2 separate regions of the Homo sapiens genome follow, and region 2 is linked to region 1. Evidence: promoter capture Hi-C in 16 types of primary human blood cells and fetal thymus (Javierre and others, 2016). All regions are on one chromosome and are shown on one strand. Each heading gives the region's core, a stretch centred on a gene start or on the middle of the fragment in contact. The rest is flanking DNA. Distances are from core to core; before and after follow the strand shown.

Evidence for each region. The method cuts DNA at HindIII sites, captures the fragments that hold promoters and counts their contacts. A CHiCAGO score of 5 or more calls a contact.
Region 2: a contact is called between a fragment that was not itself captured here and the fragment with the promoter of LRRC4 in region 1, in 1 of 17 cell types (neutrophils). The highest score is 5.1, in neutrophils.

What each region holds. Positions count from the first base shown.
Region 1 is chr7:128,030,132-128,032,707 of GRCh38, reverse strand. LRRC4 (leucine rich repeat containing 4) reads left to right here and starts at 1,271. Exons shown (of 2, transcript NM_022143.5): 1 at 1,271-1,795; 2 at 1,968-2,576. The coding sequence starts at 2,068. The region is part of intron 16 of SND1 (staphylococcal nuclease and tudor domain containing 1); the gene reads right to left. RefSeq lists silencers at 1-57, 708-827. The HindIII fragment of the contact is 11,709 bases long and covers 1-1,755 here.
Region 2 is chr7:127,881,063-127,883,638 of GRCh38, reverse strand. The region is part of intron 12 of SND1 (staphylococcal nuclease and tudor domain containing 1); the gene reads right to left. Among named protein-coding and RNA genes, the nearest start is that of SND1-IT1, 120 kb to the left of the region's middle. The HindIII fragment of the contact is 2,215 bases long and covers 166-2,380 here.

The DNA.
Region 1 (2,576 bases), core at 22-2,521:
ACGCAGTTCCGAACTCCGAACGCGAGTCCGCGCCCCGTCAGCAGTCAGCGGGGGTGAGGATGACGCGGGCCGGGCGAGAGGCAGGCCAAATGCAGCAGCCCCGCCGCGGGCCGCCGGGCCCCTGAGCCCCGCTCTTCAGAGCCAGGGGGCCCCGGGTGCGGGCCGGAGGGCGGGGGCCGGCGCGGGCTCTCCCGCCGCAGCCCCGCGCCGCTCCAGCCTATCAGCGGCCACCCAACTGCTCCCTCCGACCGGCCCAAAATAGCTGCGAACGCCTGCGACTTGCGCGCGGCCCCTCACTTGACGCTCACTCCGGCTCGCTCGCCCGCTCGCCCTGGCCCCGCTCCGCTCGTCTAGAGGGGGCGGGGAGGAAGCGGCCCGGGGAGGGGGGAGGGGGGAGGGGGAGAGAGGAAGAGAGGAGGAAGGAAGGAGGAAAGAGGAAGACGGGCGGCCGGAGGCGCGGGGCTGCGCGGCGCCGGCCGGCGCGGCGCTGGAAGGCGCCGGCGTTAACCCCGCGAGGCAGGCGACGGAGGGGGAGCGGCGCTAATACATAAGAGCACTGCATCACGCTAATCTTCTCCCAGAACAGTATGCGTCAGCAGTACATTCACGTTCTGACTGAAGGACAAAAGGATGAGAGAGCAGTCTGCGTGGCTGCCGCCTGCAACACCGCGAGCCCGGCGCGAGGAGGAGACGGTGGGCGCCGCGCGCAGGGGCCCCGCTGCTGCTGCTGCCGCCGCTAGCCAGCGGGGACTATGTTCCTGGGCTCCGGAGCGTTTCCCGCAGCCGCGACCCCCGCTGCTCACGCCGCTGCAGCAGTCCGCTGGCGGCGCGGCCACTGAGGGCGCCGGGAGCCGAAGCCGCGAACTCGCTCCCTCCGCACAAAGCCGGAGCCGGCGGCGCGCCGGGGGCCGGGCAGCGGCGGGCGGCGACGGGCGGTTGCGCGCCGCCGGGGGCTGCGGCCGCCGCCGCCGCCGGACCCGCGCCCGCCCCCGGACTCTCTGAAGGGGCCTGCGGTGCGGGCGCGACCGCGGGCGCCGCGCGCTCCTCCGGCCGGCGGACCGGGTCCGAGCGCAGCCGCCACGCCGCTGGTCCTCGGGGGCCGGACGGAGCGCCGCCCCGCGTGCCGGCAGCCGGCGGACTGGAGAACTGACCCCCCGTTTTTGTCTCTTCCACCCTCCGAGAAGAGGCGAGGAGAAAGGGGGTGTGTGTCTGGGGAGGGCGAAGGCGCCGCGAACACCTCCTCTTAACTCTCGCCGCTCCGCGAGCTCACGACCGCAATCAGCTGCCGCCGGCCCGGAGCGGCCGACGCCGGGAGAGGGAGCGCAGCATCCAGCGAGTGCGGCCTGGGCGGCTTCGGGGCGCCCCCGCACTCCCTCCGGCGGCGGCCCGCAGAGCGGGCCGGGGCCGCCGGAGCGCACTTTGGCGATGAAGCGCCTTCCCCCGCGGCTGGAGCGAGCCGGTGCCAGGGTCCAAGGACAAAGCCGGGAAGCGCTGGTGGCGCCGCTCCTTGGGCGGAGGGGGGGGCATGCACCTGCATAGCCCGCCGGGCCTTGGCTCTCCCAGGCGCGCCTCAACTCCGCGGCTTCGCCGGCTCCGGCTCCGGATTTACTAGAGGCCATTTTGTCTCCCCCACCCCTTCCCTCCCCTCCCCTCCCCTCCCCTCTGCCCTCCCCGCCCCCACCACTTCCCCCTTTTGTTAATTAAAACTAAGAAGTCGGAATGGGAACGAGGTGCCCAGCTCCCGTGGAGAAAGCTTAAGGACACCACGCCAGTGCTTTCCTGCCTTCCTTCCGAGGTAGGTGACGGCGAACTGGGTGGGGACGGTTGCAGTGTGGGAGAGTCGTAGCTTTCGGAGGGCTTGCCTTGAGGGTGGGTTGGGAGACCAGGGGCCGCTCGAGTTTGGCAGGATTTTTTTCGGCCGATCCGCTCCGTCTCTCTAATCGCCCCCTCCCCACCTCCTTCTCCAGATGGAAAGAGGAGCTCCTAGCTCACTTAAGCCGGGGTAGGGCTGGTTCTCCTTTCCGAGCCAAAATCCCAGGCGATGGTGAATTATGAACGTGCCACACCATGAAGCTCTTGTGGCAGGTAACTGTGCACCACCACACCTGGAATGCCATCCTGCTCCCGTTCGTCTACCTCACGGCGCAAGTGTGGATTCTGTGTGCAGCCATCGCTGCTGCCGCCTCAGCCGGGCCCCAGAACTGCCCCTCCGTCTGCTCGTGCAGTAACCAGTTCAGCAAGGTGGTGTGCACGCGCCGGGGCCTCTCCGAGGTCCCGCAGGGTATTCCCTCGAACACCCGGTACCTCAACCTCATGGAGAACAACATCCAGATGATCCAGGCCGACACCTTCCGCCACCTCCACCACCTGGAGGTCCTGCAGTTGGGCAGGAACTCCATCCGGCAGATTGAGGTGGGGGCCTTCAACGGCCTGGCCAGCCTCAACACCCTGGAGCTGTTCGACAACTGGCTGACAGTCATCCCTAGCGGGGCCTTTGAATACCTGTCCAAGCTGCGGGAGCTCTGGCTTCGCAACAACCCCATCGAAAGCATCCCCTCTTACGCCTTCAACCGGGT
Region 2 (2,576 bases), core at 24-2,523, 150 kb after region 1:
TTAATATCCAAGTTCTAATGTTTTCTGAGTATGCAGGAAAATGTCCTGCCTCATAGAAAATGCAAGATAAATTATCTGAGGAGAGGTACAATAGATCGGCCAGTTGCTCTTAAATAGTTGAAAGGTATGCTCTTTGTACAGTTATGTGCAACTTTTCTATAAGCTTAAGTGGTTTCAAAATTAACACAAACACACATTGTGAAGTAAACTGGACAGTTTTAGACAAATTATCAATTGTCAATATATTGTTACTTCCAATATTGTTAGAGGTAGGGAAGGCAGGCAAAAATATGATCAAACAATTAAGGCCTACTACAATTGAATTTTACCCCCTAGGATTCCTGTTCTCTTGTATGGGTATGGAACATATTTTCTCCATGTTGGCATAATATTGGACCCCACGGTTTCACTACTATCTTATAGTGGCTAAGTTTGAGCTTATATTACAACCTGCTTGCATGGAAATTAACTAGAGGGGAAGATGTCAACTGCTCGTCTATCTTTTGGGCAAGACTGCCTGTGAGACCCATGTCACCTGTGTTTGTTTATATCAGGAACCACCTGATCATGCCTAATGGAAACTGTTGACTTTTAGTAGAACCCTAAACATCTCTTTTAGTTTGGAGAAGCATTTCAGTCCTAGCACTAATTCTCTTTTTGTTTCTAGCTGACATGGAGAGTGATGGCTTACTGTTAGACTTCCAAGGTTGTTAGGTCCCTTTTTATATGCCGATTGTGAATTATCCATTCAGGCCAGACATGTGTAATTGGAGTAGAATTACTGATACACTCAAGAAAGCAGAATTTATAAATTTGTCTAAAGCAGCATAATGTCATGGCACACAATTTAATGTTCTCTTTTCTTACTGGGCAACTGATCAACTCAGTAGTGTCAGGTTCTGAGCCATCTGTAGCCAGGGGAAAATTTCCTGACCTTTCATTAGCAGCCAAAAGAAATGAATGAGACAGTCAAGTACATGGATCTAGGCTAATTCCACTTTCTCTCCCTCCCTTTCATTCTCTTTTTAAATTGAAGTCCCAGATAATTGAGAGGAGGAAGACAAAAGCTGGGAAAGCATGCAGAAAGTTATCGTCCTTGATTACATGCTGGGAAAACTTGGCTAGGAAAATAATGTTCCAGTGCTCTATTTCCAAAATAATTAAATTCCTCTCCTCTCCTCTCCCCTCTCTTCCCCTCCCCTCCCCTCCCCTCCTCTCCTCTTTTCTCCTCCGTCCCTCCCTCCCTCCCTCCCTTCCTCCCTCCCTTCCTGCCTGCCTTCCTTCCCCTCCTATGGGGCTCTGACACCCCAAGCCAGACTACCCCTCTGAGCACATATGCCTTTGATCTGCCTTAATTGCTTTTCCTTTTTTTAACATATATAAAAGGGACAGGGTCATGCCCTGTCACCCAGGCTACAGTGCAGTGGTATGATCATAGTAACTACAGCCTCAAACTCCTGGGCTTAAGGGATCCTCCTACCCCAGCCCCCTGAGTAGCTAGGACTACAGGCACATGCCACCATGCTTGGCTCATTTTTGAATTTTTACTGTAGAGACAGGGGCTTGCTATATTGCCCAGGATGGTTGTGAACTCCTGGGCCCAAGTGATCCTCTCACCTTGGCCTCCCAAAGTGCTGAGATTACAGGCATGAGCCACTGCGTCCAGCCTCTGCCCCAACTGCTTTAAGAATGAATTGTTTTGGCTGTTGGGGTGGCTCACGCCTATAATTCTAACACTTTGGGAGGGCGAGGCAGGAGGATCTCTTGCGTCCAGGAGATCAAGGCTACAGTGAGCCATGGTCACACCACTGCACTCCAGACTGGGTGACAGAGTGTCACATCACTGCACTCCAGACTCGGTGACAGAGTGAGACTGTCTCAAAAACAAAAAAAATTGTTTCCATTTGACACCAAACACCAACCACCGCTAACTTTCCATAGAGTCAAACCATGAAGGGGCAGAGCGAGCTTTTCAATGAGAGAACCAGACTGTGTGTTTTGCATTTGCCTGTCCAGTTATATTTACAGCCAAAGGTAATGCATATTTCAACGGGGACAATAAAGATAAAACTTTCCCCATATACATATATACTCTTTCTCACTCATTCATGCATTCTGTGACTTTGAATATTTGGTGCCCATAAGTAGAGCTAACTTAAAAGGAATATACTACTTGGTAAAAAAGAACCTGGGTTAAATGAATAAAAATATTATAGGGGCTGAGGGTAAACTCCCCCTTTGCCCTCTGGAGGTTCCCTAAAAATCAGCTGACAAAAGGCAGATTAACAAAAGAAAGAGCATAAAAAATTTAATTTTAATGTGCATAGCATGGAGGGAATCATAGAATGATTATCCAATAACCTAGGGTGGAACAGAAGCTTATGTACCCCTTTTCATAGGGGAGGGGTGAGATGGGGAATGTGGTAATTCTTTGAGGAGCAGTAAATCTTCAGGGAGAATAAATGGACCCAGAGAGTGGGAGGCAGACATTACTGGAAGGTGAGAAGTGAAGCTGCACAGAAACAAAGGTTGTCTTATTAAGCCAATAGTCTCCCAGGTTAATCCCTCAGAGCTGC